7 separate regions of the Homo sapiens genome follow, and regions 1, 3, 4, 5, 6 and 7 are each linked to region 2. Evidence: promoter capture Hi-C in 16 types of primary human blood cells and fetal thymus (Javierre and others, 2016). All regions are on one chromosome and are shown on one strand. Each heading gives the region's core, a stretch centred on a gene start or on the middle of the fragment in contact. The rest is flanking DNA. Distances are from core to core; before and after follow the strand shown.

Region 1 (2,700 bases), core at 64-2,563, 370 kb after region 2:
TAGCACAGTTTAGTGGAAAGATCTTGGTCTTTGAAGTAAGATTGATGTGTTTGAATTCCAGCTGTAAATAAAAAGGACTAACATGATTAGTTAAAGTGGAGAAAGCTCTAAGAAGGAAGAACTCAGTCTAGGACTCCTTGTATAACTACTGCGGCATGCTTACTATTGTATTACACAGTGTGCTAAGCACTTGCCTTACTGATTTAATGTTTACACCAACCCTCTGTGGTAGGCATTAGCAACTCCATTTAACTGATTTTTAAAAAATGTAGTCTTAGAGATTAAGCAATTTGTAAATAGTATAACACGGATTTCAACCCGGTTGTTTTTAACTGCTTTATTGAGGTATAATTGACATTCAATAAGTATACATAAAGTGCATAATTTGATGTTGTGACATATGTATACACCCATGAAACTATCACCGCAGTCAAGATAATGAATGTATCTATCACCTCCAAAAGTTTCCTCCTGCCACTTCCCACCCTGCCCCATCTCCAAGCAACCACTGATCTGCTTTCTGTCAATAGAGATTAGTTTGCATTTTCTAGAGTTATAAAAATGATATCATACATTATGTGCTTTTTCATATCTGGTTTTATTCACTGGCATTGTTACTTTGAAATTAAACCATATTGTTATGTTTATCAATAGTTTATTACTTTTTATTGTTCAGTAATATTCTATTATAAGAATATACCACAATTTTTGTATTCATTCAAATACTGAAGGACATTTAATCCAATTGTTTCTCACCCTAAACCTGTGCTACACTCTCTTCCCAGTTCCATCACTTATTGTGTGGGCTTAGGAAACCTAATTATTCTCCCTGAGTCTTGGTTTTTCTCATGATAAAATGGCAGTAATATACGTTTTTTTCACATGGTTGTTATCAGTAAATGAGAGAACGTGAACACGCCTGGTACAGGTGTCCCTTATCTCAAGTGCCTGGGACCAGAAGTATTTTGGACTTCAGAGTTTTTGAACTTTTGGAATATTTGCATATACATAATGAAATATCTCTGGGATGGGACCCAAGTCTAAACATGAAATGTATGTTTCATATGCACCTTATACACATAACCTGATGGTAATTTTATACAATATTTTCAAAAATTTTGTGCATGAAATGAGTTTTTCTATTTTGACTGTGACTCATCACATAACATTAGGTGTGGAATTTTCCACTCGTAGCATCATGTTGATGCTCAAAAAGCTTTGGATTTTAGACCATTTCAGATTTTGGGTTTTTGGATTACAGATGCTCAACTGGTACCATGTGATCATAAATTGGTGCTTACAACTATTCATTTTTTTTTCTCCTGAAAGGGAACATATCGGAGAAGGAAATGAGAAAAGATATAGCAGTACATGCCTTTCTGGACTCTTTCTTCCTGTCTTGAAAGCTTTGAATTCTTGCATCTAGAGCTTCCTACACTGAAACGTCCTCTTAATCTTTCTCACTTTGATTTCTCCTACACCTGTCTCATCTGCACCCCATGGATATGATGTTTGTCTTTTCTCTTTAATCCAAATATGGACACAATTTTTTTCTTATTCCCTTAGCGTAACTGAAATAGAGTGATGCATTCACAAAAATTAAAGGATAAATTAAATGGGTATAATTATGTAAAAGGAAGCAATGGAAAAATAGTCAAGGCTCCTAGATGCGTGCTTTATTCCACATAATCCCACCACAGTGAGTAAAGGGGCTTTATTTAGTTCCATATCTGCTTGCACAAGGATCACCATCTTCTAACACAGATGGGTGGGCACAACCTGGCCTGAGCTCCTTCCTAACCTGCCTTCTGTCTTTCAGTTATCTGGCCATCTTCTCTTCCTGGCTACTGTGGTTTCTAGTTCTGTTCACATAAAAATGCCAGACCAACCTTTTATTCTAAATTCAAACTTCTCAGGCACTGTTTGGTCCTTCTCTGAGGCTTTCAAATCTAAAAGAAACACATAAATGAATAAAGTTGACAGGCAAGGTTAATCTTTCCTAGGGTTTCTAGGGCATTTTACTCACCCTACACATCTTAAATAATACAAAATAATATTTACATGCAATCAAAGGCAGCAAACCCAAGGTGAACACTGTAATGGTTTGCCCTGTTCCTCCTTCAGGACAGAAAGATTTATTTCCACAACTATTGGGAGTGCTGCCAGCAGATGACCTTCAGCTTACAGCCCTCTCAGGGAACTGCCTCAGGTGCAAACAACTTAAAGCCATGCCCCCTCAGGCACCCACATCCAATGACTGATCAACATAGGGGTATTAAAAATAGAGCTTTCCTTCCCTGACCTGTGATACTCTTTAGGGCCATTCCACCTTCAGAGTTCCTCGTCGGGTTGACTGAGGACTTTAAGACTATATCACAGCTCAACTTTTCCCACTGTCCAATCCTGCTTCTGTCTCTTTCCATGCACAGGTGCTGATCTTAAAAGTCTTCCCTAATAAACTTTCTACATGCTGATCTCCATTTCAGAGTCTGTTTTCTGGAAAACCCAGCCTATGGCAAAATGTAAAGCAAGAGGAGAGCTGTATCCCAATCCTCCTGAAATCCAAGCTCCTTTTTAGGTATCTCAGATCAATAGGTTATAGAATTTGACTTACTTCTGCTTACTTAGAGTTAGCTCTTCATACATCATAGACCCGTTAACATTAATGTTCCACATGAGAAATGAAGAAAGGTGTAAGGA
Region 2 (2,790 bases), core at 86-2,585:
GTTCCTGCCTTGTATCCTCAGCTGCTGGGACAGGATCTGGTCAACCGTGACCCTGAACTGGAATATGCAGGTAAGCAGTTATCTTGTTTTTATCAATCTTTCATAAATGTATATATAGCTTAGATTTATTTCAATGTTTATTATTAGAGGTGTTTTGAGTATTTAGAGGTTTAGTGATGTTTTTGTGACTAGGAATATGCCATAAGAGCTTAACTCTTATTTATATCAATTAGCTCTTGGGAAAATTGTCTTCATTATCAATTGTTTCACTTTATGTCACAGTTTCCAGAACCTACAGAGGACATTAAGTGAGGACTTACTGTATATAGGTGGTTGTGCTTGTGAAGGATTAAATGAGGTAATGTGTGTGAAGCACTCAGGACAGTGCCTAGCACCTGGTAAGTGTCCATGAATTGGAGGCTATTATTGCTGTAATAAGGAAATTCATACACATTAAAATGGCTAAGAAAGTTCATTTTAAATAACCGTAACATGCACATTTGTATTGCTTTCTCGGATGATCTTGCTATTCTCTATTTCAGAGGAAGTCCGTGGAGAAGCCTGCCTGTTAGCTGTCTAGGGGTCAGGTGGCTTCTTGGCAGTATATATTACATGATAAACATTGACTTAATATGGACCATAACCACAAGGTAGAAAATAGGGAAACAGGGAGTGGAAAAACCACAGTGATCCTTTCCTAGAGAGAGACCAAAATATTAACCGCTGTAAACCTCTCATGTTACAGTTCGAACACATCTTAATAAATGATTAAATCTACTCTCTCATTTCATAAGTGGGGAACTGAAGCCCCCATAAAAGTTAGGGGCAGAACTATGACTATACTCAGACCACTCTTTCCCTGTATATTATATATACCTTTTATTATAAAAAATTTCAAAAATCACAGAAATACAAAGACTAGAACAATGCACACCTATGTACTCATCATCCAGCTTTAATAACAATCAAACTGTTACCTCTCTTAAAAAAACAGCTTTGATTCTGAGTCTGGTGTCATTTATACTCCTTCACAGAGATGTTCAGAACCAGTATCTTAGAGCACATCCCCCAGGCAAAGAAATGTAGCAATAAAAAGAGAAGGACATAGCATGAGAAAAAAAGGCAGGCTGTCAACCAATGCCTAAAATGTAGAAAGTTCTCTCAAGTTGTTTTTACAATAGTCTGGAAAACACAGTCTCATTCTGAAAGGACACTGTTCCTTTAAATTGCTTACTGATCCCACCCAGATCTTGCACCCTGGCCAAATGCCTGACCACTCTTGCTTTGACTTAGTCGAATAAACATGAACAAAAGACTGCAAAAGATCCTAAAGCAAAGACACTTTTATTTCCCACAGAACAGAACAATATCAAATAGCTAACTTCACCCCCAACCACAGTCCTTGCTGTTGGCATTTACTCAACTAGTCTTTAATTCCTGTTTGACAAACTTTATAAGGTAAGACATAACAGATTTATTTTAGTCACTTGAAATCAGATAGGACCATCAAGGAACTGTGGAAGACTAAATGACTTACTTACATAATTATTAGGTGAGAAAGCTTGTCAATAGTTTGTATTCTCTGCAATTACTTCAAATCAATTATTAGAAAAATATTAACATTGTTAAAATGTAGAAATTTAAAACTTAAAATTATTTTGAAATGGATTTTTAATTTACAGTCTTCTAAATTGTTTTACAACGATGTTAATATATTTTAGGACATCTTTTTCTTAATTTGGAACAGGGTTTACAATTCAGAATTAGTTATAGAATACTTTACAACTTGGCTAATTTGTCAATTTGAATAAAGTCTTTATTCAATCATTTTCTATTTGTGTAGAAACTGAGATGCAAACATTGTAACTAAAGTTGGTGAACTCTGATATAAGATCATTTTATTTTTGAAAAATTATAAAAAATAAAGTATCTTGGATTTATTTACTGATCCTGATATTTACCCCAAATAAATTTTAGGCCAAAAGTAAAACTACGGTATTTGATTAATAATTATGATTGTTTCTGCATTTATAAAATGTAACCTATAGTAAACACAGAGGTTCACATTTCTTTCACTTAACTAATGGCACTGTTTCCTCTGAAACCTATTTTGCTTGTACGTGACATCAGAAAGAGAGAAAGGTGAGAATTATTAAAAACAGAGGCAAAATAAAACATGGTAAAAAGTGATTAGAAATGAGTGGGCTCTCAAGATGCCAAATTAATAAACGAGAAAGATATTTCAGGGAAGCAGTAGAACTAACAAGCTAGAGAAACAAATCTAGAGAGGTATGAAAATGTCCTCTGGCTACAATAGGGAAACAGAAAGAAATAACAAGACTTTGGTTTGGGAGAGCTAGATTAACAATGTCAGAGCAAATAAGAACAAAATATGAGATACTGGGATTATTGTCAATGGAAAAGTTATGTTTGTGAATATCATATATACAGGGATCAGGTACAAATTCATGATTATATGCCAAGAAAACAGTAAGAGCAGGTGCTTAGTTTTGGGAAAAGATAAATCTTTATTTAAAGCCAGTATTTCTAAAACCTTACATGAAGGGTTTTGAAGAGTTGCTTGATTATGTTGCTTATAAAATCTTGCTCAGTTCTCAATGGAATTCAGTTCTCAGCCTCTTATTTCCAGAACTTCTGAGATGTTCCTTATGGTATGAACTCAACCAAAGAGAAAAGTCATATGTAATACCATGGCCATGGTGTTATTCCCTTTCCCCTTTGAAAATGCAATAACAACTGTGTTTTTCACATAGCCTTATCTTTACACTA
Region 3 (2,767 bases), core at 2-2,501, 390 kb after region 2:
CTGAATAGGAACAGCTCCAGTCTGCAACTCCCGGCATGATTGTTGCAGAAGATGGGTGATTTCTGCATTTCCAACTGAGGTACCTGGTTCATCTCACTGGGACTGGTTGGACAGTGGGTGCAGCCCACAGAGGCGAGCCGAAGCAGAGCGGGGCATCACCTCACCTGGGAAGCACAAGGGGTTGGGGGATTTCCCTTTCCTAGCCAAGGGAAGCCGTGACAGACTCTACCGGGAAAATTGGACACTGCCACCCAAATACTGCACTTTTCCAATGGTCTTAGCAAATGGCACACCAGGAGATTATATCCTGTGCCTGGTTCAGTGGGTCCCACACCCACAGAGCCTTGCTCACTGCTAGCACAGCAGTCTGAGATGAAACTGCAAGGAGGCAGCCTGGCTGGGGGAGGGGCAGCCACCATTGCTGAGGATTGAATAGGTAAACAAAGCAGCTGGAAAGCTCGAACTGGGTGGAGCCCACTGCAGCTCAACAAGGCCTACCTGCCTCTGTAGACTCCACCTCTGGGGCAGGGCATAGCTGAAAAAAAGACAGCAGAAACTTCTGCAGACTTAAACGTCCCTGTCTGACAGCTCTGAAGAGAGCAGTGCTTCTCTCAGCACAGTGTTTGAGCTCTGAGAATGGACAGACTGCATCCTCAAGTGGGTCCCTGAACCCTGTATAGCCTAACTGGGAGACACCTCCCAGTAAGGGCTGACTGACACCTCATACAGCCAAGTGCCCCTCACAGACAAAGCTTCCAGAGGAAGGATCAGGCAGCAATATTTGCTGTCCTGCAATATTGCTGTTCTGTGGCCTCTGCTGATGATACCCAGGCAAACAGGGTCTGGAGTGGACCTCCAGCATACTCCAACAGACGTGCAGCTGAGGGACGTGACTGTTAGAAGGAAAACTAACAAACAGAAAGGAATAGCATCAACATCAACAAAAAGGACATCTGCACCGAAACCCCATTTGTAGGTCACCATCATCAAAGACCAAAGGTAGATAAAACCACAAAGATGGGGAGAATCCAGAGCAGAAAAGCTGAAAATTCTAAAAACCAGAGCACCTCTTTTCCTCCAAAGGATCGCAGCTCCTCACCAGCAATGGAACAAAGCTGGATGGAGAATGACTTTGACGAATTTACAGAATTAAGCTTCAGAAGGTCGGTAATAACAAACTTCTCCAAGCTAAAGGAGGATGCTTGAACCCATTGCAAGGAAGCTAAAAACCTTGAAAAAAGATTAGACAAATGGCTAACTAGAATAAACAGTATGGAGAAGTCCTTAAATGACCTGATGGAGCTGAAAACAATGGCACGAGAACTATGTGATGTAGGCATAAGCTTCAGTAGTTGATTTGATCAAGTGGATGAAAGGGTATCAGTGATTGAGATCAAATTAATGAAATGAAGTGAGAAGAGAAGTTTAGAGAAAAACAAGTAAAAAGAAATGAAAAAAGCCTCCAAGAAATATGGGACTATGTGAAAAGACCAAATCTATGTTTGATTGGTGTACCTGAAAGTGACAGGGAGAATGGAACCATGCTGGAAAACACTTTTCAGGATATTATCCAGGAGAACTTCTCCAACCTAGCAAGGCAGGCCAATATTCAAATACAGGAAATACAGAGAACATCACAAAGATACTTCTTGAGAAGAGCAACCCCAAGACACATAATTGTCAGATTCACCAAGGTTGAAATGAAGGAAAAAATGTTAAAGACAGCCAGAGAGAAAGGTCAGGTTACCCACAAAGGGAAGCCCATCAGACTAACAGCAGATCTCTTGGCAGCAACCCTACAAGCCAAAAGAGAGTGGGGGACAATATTCTACATTCTTAAAGAAAACTATTTTCAATCCAGAATTTCATATCCAGCCAAACTAAGCTTCATAAGTGAAGGAGAAATAAAATCCTTTACACACAAGCAAATGCTGAGAGATTTTGTCATCACTAGGCCTCCTTACAAGAGCTCCTGAAGGAAGCACTAAACATGGAAAGGAACAACCAGTACCAGCCACTGCAAAAAAGCCCAGTTGTAAAGACCATCAATGCTAGGAAGAAACTGCATCAACTAATGGGTAAAATAACCAGCTAACATCATAATGACAGGATCAAATTCACACATAACAATATTAACCTTAAATGTAAATGGGCTAAATTCTCCAATTAAAAGACACAGACTGACAAATTAGATAAAGAGTCAAGACCCATCAGCGTGCTGTATTCTGGAGACCCATCTCACATGCAGAGACACACATAGGCTGAAAATAAAGGGATGGAGAAAGATCTACCAAGCAAAAAGAAAGCAAAAAAAAAAAAAAAAAAAAAAAAGCAGGGGTTGCAATCCTAGTTTCCGATAAAACAGACTTTAAACCAACAAAGATCCAAAGAGACAAAGAAGGCCATTACATAATGGTAAAGGGATCAATTCAACAAGAAGAGCTAACTATCCTAAATATATATGCACCCAATACAGGAGCACCCAGATTCATAAAGCAAGTCCTTAGAGACCTACAAAGAGACTTAGATGCCCACACAATAATAATAGCAGACTTTAACACCCCACTGTTAATATTAGACAGATCAATGAGACAGAAGGTTAACAGGGATATCCAGGACTTGAACTCAGCTCTGCACCAAGTGGACCTAATAGACATCTACAGAACTCTCCACCCCAAATCAACAGAATATACATTCTTCTCAGCACCACATCACACTTATTCCAAAACTTACCACATAGTTGGAAGTAAAGCACTCCTCAGCAAAT
Region 4 (2,700 bases), core at 128-2,627, 310 kb after region 2:
ATATAATCTTTAAACAAACAAACAGTAAAACAATATAATTAAATTCAAATACAAAAAAATGAAATGGGAAAATACCCCAAATCAAGGCAATGTTAAAAAAAAAAAAAAAAAGGGAATATAGAATAGATGAGACAAATAGAAAATAAATAGTAAGGTGGTTGATTTAGAACCAAACATATCAATGATTATATTAAAAGCAAATAGACTAAAAACTACAATTAAAAAATAAAGATTGCCAGCCAGACTCGAGAAAAATAAACTCATCTACATGCAGCTTACAAGAGACACATATTAAATAGATTTATAAAGTTGAAAGCAAAATAATAGAAAAATATACCATACAAACAGTAATTAAAGGAAAGCTTATTGATACCACAAAAAAAACTAGTAGTTACATGGCTTGTTCTCTGTGACATTCATTAAGCTCTACATTTATGATTTTACATACTTTTCTGTATTAACATTTATTTCAGTAAAAAGTGTATACAAAAACCCATTCATGTGTCTTTATCCCATTAAGTACATACTTAATATATTCATATTTGATATAAAAATATCCCAAAATCTACAAGTAAAATTGACATGCCATGACAACACACCATGCTTATGCTGCATTATATATCTTATATTTCAGGCTCTCTCCTGAATTGTAATTCCAGTTTGGGAAGAAAAACCCTAAGAGGAAGAGGAGAGGTGAAGGAACAGCACAGTATAAGCAAAGCTGCCCAGTATCTTGAGATGTAAATTAACCATCTGAAACTATCAGATACATGTTTACACCTTTTGCTCTATCCTGACTGTACCTTCAAGTTCAGAAAGGTAGGCCTTCATGGATGATGAGTACATAGCCCCACTCAACGATCCTTCTCTCTACACCCAATCAAATTTGCCACAGGAAAACCAGAAACAAGTTTACCATGTCTTTCTGCTGTTTTCTCTGATGAGGGGGTCTCAAATTCTGCCTCCCTACTGCCCCCTTTCCCTCATTCAGGTTGGCCGTTAGTGTAATCTTTATATCCAAAAGATACAATAAAACATATCCCTCCTGTCTTAAGTGATTGTTCTGAAATTCTAAATATCTCGATTGTCTGAGGACCAGTTCATTAGACCTTGCTCTAACCAGAAATCTTGGTTTGAAATTTCATTCAAACAGCCAGAGAGAACTGATTAGTCAAGTATCTGTTCGATATTATACAAGTCCTTCCTTTAGCAGTATACATGATCAAGACAATCTACAATAGAGGTATGTGATATGAAAGTACCATGAATTGAAAACATGAAGCCAAGAGAAGTAAATGAAAGATGTTTTAACTCTTAATTTCTTATGGAGGAAGACAAGCAGAATACGATTGAAGCAGTGAACCTGGAGCATTAGCAGATACTGAGTTGTCACTCTCTACATCCTCTGATTCTCTCACTAACACTTTGCCTTACAGCACACTGATCTTGGTTTTCCATTGCTTTTTGTCCTAGCTGTGATTTTGCCTTAATACCATACACAGCCACTTCACCATCTCAGAAAAGAACAAAGACAGTATTTTACTGCTGCAGAGTCTACCGCTCCTGGCACTGGAGAAGAAAGCAGTAGTCACAATGCCATTCAGTACCACTTAGGCAGAAAGCACTGTGACTGAGAAGAGGAAGGACTGCAGGACCAGAGAAAATTCCTATTTCTATCATCATATGGATATCTGAAGTTAAAGAAGTGCTAACCCAGCTCCATCAACTATGAATACTAACATGCTACTCAATCATATTCCAAGGACATGCTGAGCTTCAGAACAAGCCTACTTCTATAACACAAAAACAGTTACTGTTTGTGGAAAGCTACTGAAGTACTTATGGACACAGTTTTTCTTAGCTGAAGAGGCACTTTTTAAGCAAGGCATCTATCCTGGAGTGAATGTAAGGAAAACTGACTTCTTGGTGTTACGTAATTGTTTTTAACTTTAAAATGTTTTGTGATGCTGTCTGATGCCTGTCATACTCTCTTACTCTTCTCCCCCAGAGTATCAGCACACTCAGAATGTGTTGGCTCCTCTTGTGTTGTGTTTACCACATTCCCTTCCAATTTAAAGGACTCCGGCCTTATGACTAAATAACTGTAAACTCCCATTTTTTTTTTTCCTGCTCCTGGGATAAAATAGCCATCTCATGGGGGTAGAATGCATCCCAAAGCTCACTCAGATTTTTGGCAAAAATCATGTCCACAAGAGTGTTGAGGTAGACTAGACTGGAAAAAGACACAGCTTAACCACACTGCACATTATGAGGGCTTAAATACTATTTCTTTGAATTGGGTGGGGGAAGTTCTTTATGCCAAGTGCTTCCAAACCTGATGTGTAATCAGAATCGCTTGAGGATATTTTAAAAGTACAGATTTCCAAGCTTGACAACTGAGGTTTCAGATACAAAAGAACTCCCGGGACAACTAAAATTTATATTTTAATTTTATTTTTAAAGGGACAGCTTTATGCTATTCATTGTTAAAAAAGGATTTAGAAGGAAGAAATCATCACAAGTCCTACTACCCAGAAACAACAATTATTAATATTTTGTGATTATCATTACAGGTTTCTCTCTAGCAATAACAAAAATAGGAGAGGTAATTACAGTTAACATTTGAACCCTGTACTAAGAGCATCTGCAAACTATAAAGTACGGACTAGTATTCCCATTTACAGATGAATTCAGACACAG
Region 5 (2,700 bases), core at 48-2,547, 270 kb after region 2:
ACCTTCCTGTATGCTCATCTGTGGCTAGCAATAGAGTTGAGCAAGTCTCATCAACCTTGCTAGAGGCCTTCAACACATGTGCCTGTGTGTATGTGTCCATGTGCACATGTGTCTGTTTTCATGTTAAATTGACAATAAATGGGCAAACGATCTAACAGTTTAAAATATGATTGGAAAGGAAATTTTTTAGATTTTAGAATCCCATCACAAGCTTCAATTTTTCTTTTTAAAGTGTCAATTTCATCCCCACAAAAAAGTTACAAAAGTGAACAATTGAAAGATGAAAATTTCAGAGAGGCTTAAGTGTGTGAAATTCCTTTCGTTCAATGATGCACTAGAGATATCTGCATTTGAGCACAGTCATGATGAGGGGTAGATTGTCAGCCATAGTTAGCTATCCAGGATATGGCATTTACAAAATAATGGCATTATGTCAAAGTTCAAATGAATACCATGTTCAAATGAATACCATTTAAGAATGCCCCACTATCTTTGGAAAAATGGCTCAAGGAAATCATTTCCCACAAATCCATCTTACTTCTTCTGAGGAGCAGTTGGTTGAGGTAGTGGGGAATGTGGCCTGAAGAGGTAGCTCTGATGAAGTGCTACTCCTTAGGTTGTAACTGGGCCCCTCTGTAGAGCAGCATGTGCCCTGACTCACTGACCTCCAGTGGGGATATTTTAACGTGTTAATTTCACTGAAACAGACATGCTGATGCTAAGCTAGTATTAGAAAACTTCCCAAGAGAAAAATAGATAGTATGTAAGAATAGGTCAAGGTGGAATTAGTCTGGATATTAAGACATGTGAGATTCACATATGTAAGTATCCACTTGTTTCATGTCCCAAGATACCCAATTCTATAAATATTTTCTAGGTCTTCTGCTGTCTTTGGTTTTCATGGAAATTGGGATAGTTTGAAAAGAGCACTCCTTAATTCAACCTTAAACAGTTTAGGGCATCAGGTGCTCTTGAATGTGGTGGGAAACTAACAAAGCCAGTTGTGTATGAGAGGTTGAGTGGAAGGTTCTGGTTTCCTGTGATATTACATCTTGGGTAAAATGTATCTTGGGGACCAGGCCACCTTTGTAAAATCAACAGATTGGCCATAAGATTAAAAATTATGACTCAGGAGTCATGCACCCAGAGGTTACAAGATTACTAACCTCCCCAATTGCTCCTATAGATAACATTACTACTATAAAACCTAAGATTGGTGCTTGAGATATCTTTTAGACCCTGCATTCTGATGGATCAGCTGGCACCACCCAGAATGGTAAACCAACTCATCTGGTCTTGTGGCCCCTACCCAGGAACTAACTCATGCCTGCCAAAGTGTCTTTAAAAAATCCTAGCCTCCAAATTTTTGGGGAGGCTGATTTAAATAATAGTAAAATTCTGGTCTCCTATTTAGCTGGCTCTATGCATATTAAAATCTCTCTCTATTGCACTTCCCTGTCTTTACAAATTGGCTGTATCTGGGCAGCAGGCAAGATGAACTGGTTACAATCTCATTTGATTCTTTAAGGATAATACTTTGCTAAACTCTGAGACTTCTTTACCTCACTACGATGTTGGTCAGCAGAAGGTCAGTGGGGTTCTTAGATTTTCATTTGTATATACACCATTGCCACCATGTGGGGCAGCATAGATTTTATGGCTTCCATAAGGTGTAACAGATTCATTCATCCTATTCAAAAGGTGACTGACATATTCTTGCCAAAGACAGAATTCAACCAAAAATAACTAGAAAATGTAACTGAATACCAAAAAAATAACAGACAATAGACCTAGACCAATAGGGGATCTTGATAATGTGACTATCCAACATGGATTCTATAATGATTTGCTTAAAATGTTTAAGGAAATAAAAATTAAGATTGAGGACATTGGCAGAGACCTGGAAATATAAAAAATAACCAAATGGAAATTCTAGAATTGAAAAACTTGATAAATGAAATCAAGAACTCAACAGATGGGCTTAACAGAGAACAAATACTACCAATAAAACTTCTTTATTTTTTTTGAGACAAGAGTCTCGCTCTGTTGCCCAGGCTGCGGTGCAGTGGCACGATCTTGGCTCACTGCGATCTCCACCTCCCAGGCTCAACTGATTCTCATGCCTCAGCCACTCAAGTAGCTGGGATTATAGCTGTGTGCCAACACGCCTGGCTAATTTTTGTATTTCTAGTAGAAATGAGGTTTCATCATATTGCCCAGGCTGGTCTCAAACCCCTGGGCTCAAGGGATCCACCCGCCTCGGCTTCCCAAAGTGCTGGGATTACAGGCGTGAGCCACTGCACTTGGCTGCCACAAAACTTTTCATTACAGAAGTTACTGAGTGACCTCCCCCAAACTCTACAAATTCCCACAAGAAGCTTAGCCTCCAAAAGGCGAGCTCGTTTGCCCTGGACAGTTCATGGCTTTATCTTTGGTGAATGGGCATTTGTTGTCTTTGAGTTATGTTCTTTACTTCCAAGTCCTTATCCTTAATTGGTCATTTTGGATCGACATGTCTGAAAAGTATTATCAGCCCTCTGTAATAGTTAAGTTGGAGAAGCCATCTCTATACACTGAGTTCCTGCGGGCAGGATTGTATCTTTTCCTCTCTGCGATCCCAGGACCAGCAAAATACCTGGGGGCAAATCAGTCATTCCTATGAATGTAATAGGACTTGAAGAGTAGAAGGAAAGTGAGGGA
Region 6 (2,700 bases), core at 11-2,510, 320 kb after region 2:
GTCTACACAGTCCCCGCACAGGGCTCCTAACCTGTGGTCAGTAAAGAACGTCACTTTCTAACAGGTCTGGAAGCTCCGAGTTTCTTGGGACCTCAAGAAGAGAGGATCACCTAACTCACAGGTATTTGAGGATAGAAACCCATTGCTGGCCTAGGCTTTAAAGGTCTTATCTAAGATTCCTTGTGGAACTGAGTTTTATCAAAGCCATCCAAAAGACCTATGTAGAAATAACCATTCTTGCTAACACTTCATGCAAATAATCAGGCCAAGTATAAGACTAAAGTTCATTCACAATTAGCTTTTACCAAAAATGAGAACTGGAGAGAAAATTTTGCTCCAAAGCTTATCATACATTTGTCATTAAATCCTAGTCTCATTAATTGTTTTTAAGCTTTTTGCCTACATTTTAAATTAACCCTGCTTATTCCTGTGACTCAAGTGGTAATCTTCTGCAGCTTGGAAGAAAGAAAAAGGGATGGGTAATGTAAAAATCTGAATCACTATACTAATTGTGGGAAATTATCCTGCAAATTCTGCCAGGTAATAAAAGTAAGTAGGGTATCCATAACCCGAAGGTTTCTTTGTTTAGGAAAATAAAACCAAAGCTTCATAGACCACCAAAGGGAAATTATCTTGGCAAGTAAAATTTTAGATGGAAATTATCTACTACACCACACTTGTGGGAACTGCTATACTCACTCTACTGTTTGCAATAGGGATACACACGGTAGCACCTTCTAACTGAAATATTGGACAGAGTTTCCATTGCTGTTGTATTTTGCTTAATTATTATCCTTAGAGCAGGAATAATAGTTACTGACAAGGAAGCATGAAAGTTTTACTATCACTGAGTCTGCTAGGACTTTTTTTGGGTTTAGGGGTGATTAACACCTCTAGTAAAGTAGAGAAAAATCTACAGGTACTTAAAGATCAAATCAAAATTATTGACAGGCTCAGGGAAAACGCCAGCTTCAGCCCCGGGTGGCTACAAATTCTTCTTTAATACATTCCAGTCTTCCTTAAGGAATTGGTTAACTCCTTTTTTAAGCCTTCTCTTGTTTATATGTCTTGTATTGATATCTGGGCCCTGTATACTCAATACTGTAACTCTCACCTAGAAGCAATCAATCTCCAAATGGTGCTGCAAACTGATCCACACATGGACATGCCATTCTTCCGAGGATCCTTAGATCAACCCCAGGAGGAGCCCTAGTTGCTGTTCCCCATATGATGCCCCTTTTCAGCAGTAAGTAGCCAGAAGGAGTTGTTGCCCAAAACCCTCTAACAGCAGTTAGTGTGGCATCTCCACAGGCGGGAATGTTGTAGGAGTTATTAAGAAATTATTTTAGGCAGAGAAGAAAAAGGGGTCCTTGGAAAGTTTTCATTTTTTAAAGCATCTCCAGAAAAGTTTCTTGTAAAGCCACGGCTGTTAAAGCCAGGCCAGCAACCTTTCATATGCAAATTTAGGCCATTAGAAACTGGGTCCACCCAAACATGGAGATTCCCACAGCCTTCTTGCCCTTGCCCTACATGTTCCTGGAATCCCGACGAGCGTAGAACATCATGGCGCCATGTATTTGCATATTAAAAGACCAGGGTGGAAGAGCCAGCTTTTTCATGAGCTATGTGAATGATGCGCCTAGTCAACCCAATCCCCGGAGCCCTATGCAAATCGAACACCACCTTCTCCAGCCTCTGCATATATACCTGGCTGGTGTCCACCGCACTTGGGGATCCCTTCTCTTGGCTTTGGAGCCTCCCTCCCTCTGTCTCTGTACGGGGGAGCTTCTTCCTTCTGCCTTCTCCCTTCTGTCTGGCCTATTAAACTCTCCGCTCCTTAAAACCAAAAAAAAAAAAAAAAAAAAAGAATCTGCCCACCATGAAATTATGCATGGTCTCATCATTTGAAGCTTTAAATACATTTCTATAATACAAAGCCATAAACTGGACATACAACATGAGCTATACAGATGCTTCGCAATCAAGTCAAAATCAAGCTCCCCAAGTCTCCAGTTGAAATTATACCCTTTAAAATAGTCCCACAATTCCAGGTTCAGAAAATAAAAAGTCAGAACAACTTTTTGTTACTGTTCCAAGAGTCACAAATATTTTTTGCAACCTCAACAGGTTCTGTCAGGCCTCTGAGCCCAAGCTAAGCCATCATATCCCCTGTGACCTGCACGTATACATCCAGATGGCCTGAAGTAACTGAAAAATCACAAAAGAAGTGAAAATGGCCTGTTCCTCCCTTAACTGATGACATTACCTTGTGAAATTCCTTCCCCTGGCTCATCCTGGCTCAAAAGCTCCCCCACTGAGCACCTTGTGTCCCCCGCCCCTGCCCGCCAGAGAACAACTCCCTTTGACTGTAATTTTCCACTACCTACCCAAATCCTATTTTTATAAATAGGCCGTTTTATAAAACGGCCCCACCCCATCTCCCTTCGCTGACTCTCCTTTCGCACTCAGCCCGCCTGCACCCAGGTGAAATAAAAAGCTTTATTGTTCACACAAAGCCTGTTTGGTGGTCTCTTCACACGGACGTGAGTGAAAGGTTCTACAATACCCAAGGTTGGGAGAAAATTATACTGCTTTATCACACTGAAAACTTTCTAGGAACATCCAATATTCTTTCTCCACGAATGTCCTATCTGCCTGTCCCAGGAGTAGGCTGATCCTTATCCATTACAAGGTTCAGAA
Region 7 (2,700 bases), core at 4-2,503, 340 kb after region 2:
TAGAAACTCTGAACAGACCAACAGCAAGCAGCAAGACTGAAATGGTAATTAAAACTGCCAACAAACAAAAAGTCCAGAATCAGATGGATTCACAGCTAAATTCTATCCAATATTCAAAGAAGAACTGATACCAATCCTATTGACACTATCCCACAATACAGAGAAAGAGGAAACCCTCCCTAATTCATTCTATGAAGCCAGTATCACCCTAATACTAAAACCAGTAAATAATATAACAAAAAAAAAGAAAACTACAGGCCAATATCCCTGATGAACATAGATGCAAAAATCCTCAACAAAATACTAGCTAGCCGAATCCAACAGCATATCAGAAAGATAACACACCATTATCAAGTGGGTTTCATGCCAGGCGTGCAGGGATGGTTTAACATACCCAAGTCAATAATTGTGATGTACCACATAAACAATTAAAAACAAAAATCACATAATCATCTCAATAGACACAGAAAAGGCATTTGGCAAAATCCAGTGTCCCTTTATAATTAAAACACTCAGCAAAATTGGCATAGAAAGGAGATGCCTTAAGGTAATAAAAGCCATCTATGACAAACCTACAGCTAACATTATACTGAATGGAGAAAGGTTGAAAGCATTTCCCCTGAGATCTGGAACAAGACAGGGATGCCCAGTCTCACTACTTCTATTCAACATAGTACTGGAAGTCCTAGCCAGAGGGATCAGACAAGACAAGGAAATAAAGGGCATCAAATCAGTAAAGAGGAAGTCGAACTGTTGCTGTTTGCTGATGATATGATCATACACCAAGAAAACCCTAAAGATTCATCCAAAAAGCTCCTAGAACTGGCAAATGAATTCAGTAAAGTTTCAGGACACAAAATTAATGTACACAAATCGGTGGCATTGCTATACACTAACAGCAACCAAGCTGCAAATCAAATCAAGAACTCAAACTCTTTTACTATGTCTGCAAAAAAAAAATAAAATACTTAGGAATATACCTAAGGAAGTGAAAGACATCTACAAGAAAAACTACAAAACACTGCTGAAAGAAATTGAAAATGACACAAACAAATGGAAACACATTCCATGCTCATGGATGGGTAGAATCAATATTGTGAAAATGATCATACTGCCAAAAGCAATCTACGGATTCAATGTAATTCCTATCAAAATGTCACCATCATTCTTTGCAGAGCTAGGGAGAACAATCCTAAAATTCATATGAAACTGAAAAGGAACACACATAGCCAAATCAAGACTCAGCAAAAACAAAAACAACCCCCCAAAACCCACAAATCTGGATGTATCACATTACCCGACTTCAAACTAAACTAAAAGGCTATAGTTACCGAAACAGCATGGTACTGGTATAAAAATAGGCACATAGACCAATGAAACAGAATACAGAACCCAGAAATAAAGCCAAATACTTAACAGCCAACTGATCTTTGACAAAGCAAACACAAACGTAAAGTGGGGAAAGGACACCCTATTCAACAGATGGTACTGGGGTAACTGGCAAGCCACATGTAGAAGAATGAAACTGGATCCTCATCTCTCACCTTACACAAAAATGAACTCAAGATTAGATCAAAGACTTAAATCTTTTAAGACCTGAAACCATAAAAGTCCCAGAAGATATCATCAGAAAAACCCTTCTAGACATTGGCTTAGGCAAAGACTTCCTGACCATGAACCCAAAAACAAATTCAACAAAAACAAAGACAAATAGATGGGACTTAATTAAACTAAAAAGATTCTGCACAGCAAAGGAAATAATCAGTAAACAGACAACCCACAGAGTGGAGAAAATCTTGGTAAACTATGCATCTGACAAAGGTCTAATATCCAGAATCTACAAAAAAACCAAACAAATCAGCAAGAAAAAAAACAAACAATCCCATCAAAAAGTGGGCTAAGGACATGAATAGACAATTCCCAAAAGAAGATATACAAGTGTTCAACAAACATATGAAAACATGTTCAACACAACTAATTATCAGGGAAATGCAAATCAAAACCACAATGCAATACCACCTTACTCCTGCAAGAATGGCCATAATCAAAAAATCAAAAAATAATAGATGTTGGCATCAATGTGGTAAAAAGGGAAAACTTTTACACTGCTGCTGGGAATGTAAACTAGTATAACCACTATGGAAAATGGTGTGGAGATTCCTTAAGGAACCAAAAGTAGATCTAACATTTGACCCAGCAATCCCACTACTGGGTATCTACCCAGAGAAAAAGAAGTCATTATACGAAAAACACACTTGAACACACATTTATAGCAACACAATTTGTAACTGCAAAAATATGGAATCAACCCAAATGCCCATCAATCAACAAGTGGATAAAGAAAATGTGGTATGTATAATATACACACACACACACCACGGAATACTACTCAGCCATAAAAAATAATGAAATAATGGCATTCACAGCAACCTGGATGGAGGTGGAGACCATTATTCTAAGTAAAGTAACTCAGGAATGGAAAACCAAACATTGTAAGTTGTCACTCATAAATGGGAACTAAGCTATGAGGATGCAAAGGCATAGAATGATACAATGGACTTTGGGAACTTGAAGTAAAGGGTGGGAGGGGGTGAGGGATAAATGACTACACATTGGGTACTGTGTACACTGCTTGGGTGAGGGGTGCACCCAAATCTCAAAAATCATTACCAAAAAACATATCCATGTAACCCAACACCA

The links. Contacts are between HindIII fragments. The CHiCAGO score rates a contact against its expected background, and 5 or more counts as called.
Region 1: a contact is called between a fragment that was not itself captured here and the fragment with the promoter of COL28A1 in region 2, in 9 of 17 cell types (naive B cells, total B cells, naive CD4 T cells and 6 more). The highest score is 19.5, in naive B cells.
Region 3: a fragment that was not itself captured here is called in contact with the fragment with the promoter of COL28A1 in region 2 in 1 of 17 cell types (non-activated CD4 T cells); the score reaches 5.2 in non-activated CD4 T cells.
Region 4: a fragment that was not itself captured here is called in contact with the fragment with the promoter of COL28A1 in region 2 in 4 of 17 cell types (total B cells, naive CD8 T cells, total CD4 T cells and 1 more); the score reaches 7.2 in total B cells.
Region 5: a fragment that was not itself captured here is called in contact with the fragment with the promoter of COL28A1 in region 2 in 3 of 17 cell types (total B cells, naive B cells and non-activated CD4 T cells); the score reaches 6.0 in total B cells.
Region 6: a contact is called between a fragment that was not itself captured here and the fragment with the promoter of COL28A1 in region 2, in 1 of 17 cell types (naive B cells). The highest score is 5.9, in naive B cells.
Region 7: a contact is called between a fragment that was not itself captured here and the fragment with the promoter of COL28A1 in region 2, in 1 of 17 cell types (naive B cells). The highest score is 5.1, in naive B cells.

What each region holds. Positions count from the first base shown.
Region 1 is chr7:7,164,290-7,166,989 of GRCh38, reverse strand. It overlaps a transcript of C1GALT1 not described here. Among named protein-coding and RNA genes, the nearest start is that of C1GALT1, 17 kb to the left of the region's middle. The HindIII fragment of the contact is 190 bases long and covers 1,219-1,408 here.
Region 2 is chr7:7,534,418-7,537,207 of GRCh38, reverse strand. It overlaps COL28A1 (collagen type XXVIII alpha 1 chain), which reads left to right and starts at 1,335. Exons shown (of 35, transcript NM_001037763.3): 1 at 1,335-1,458. The HindIII fragment of the contact is 1,663 bases long and covers 1-1,563 here.
Region 3 is chr7:7,142,974-7,145,740 of GRCh38, reverse strand. No RefSeq gene overlaps it. Among named protein-coding and RNA genes, the nearest start is that of C1GALT1, 38 kb to the left of the region's middle. The HindIII fragment of the contact is 189 bases long and covers 1,157-1,345 here.
Region 4 is chr7:7,228,034-7,230,733 of GRCh38, reverse strand. All of the region lies in intron 1 of C1GALT1 (core 1 synthase, glycoprotein-N-acetylgalactosamine 3-beta-galactosyltransferase 1), which reads right to left. Among named protein-coding and RNA genes, the nearest start is that of LINC03016, 26 kb to the left of the region's middle. The HindIII fragment of the contact is 2,026 bases long and covers 365-2,390 here.
Region 5 is chr7:7,260,478-7,263,177 of GRCh38, reverse strand. The region is part of intron 2 of LINC03016 (long intergenic non-protein coding RNA 3016); the gene reads right to left. Among named protein-coding and RNA genes, the nearest start is that of LINC03016, 6.7 kb to the right of the region's middle. The HindIII fragment of the contact is 2,167 bases long and covers 214-2,380 here.
Region 6 is chr7:7,209,582-7,212,281 of GRCh38, reverse strand. The region is part of intron 1 of C1GALT1 (core 1 synthase, glycoprotein-N-acetylgalactosamine 3-beta-galactosyltransferase 1); the gene reads right to left. Among named protein-coding and RNA genes, the nearest start is that of C1GALT1, 28 kb to the right of the region's middle. RefSeq lists enhancers at 1,155-1,726, 1,727-2,297, 2,298-2,700. The HindIII fragment of the contact is 1,305 bases long and covers 608-1,912 here.
Region 7 is chr7:7,192,180-7,194,879 of GRCh38, reverse strand. All of the region lies in intron 1 of C1GALT1 (core 1 synthase, glycoprotein-N-acetylgalactosamine 3-beta-galactosyltransferase 1), which reads right to left. Among named protein-coding and RNA genes, the nearest start is that of C1GALT1, 11 kb to the right of the region's middle. The HindIII fragment of the contact is 6,809 bases long and covers 1-2,700 here.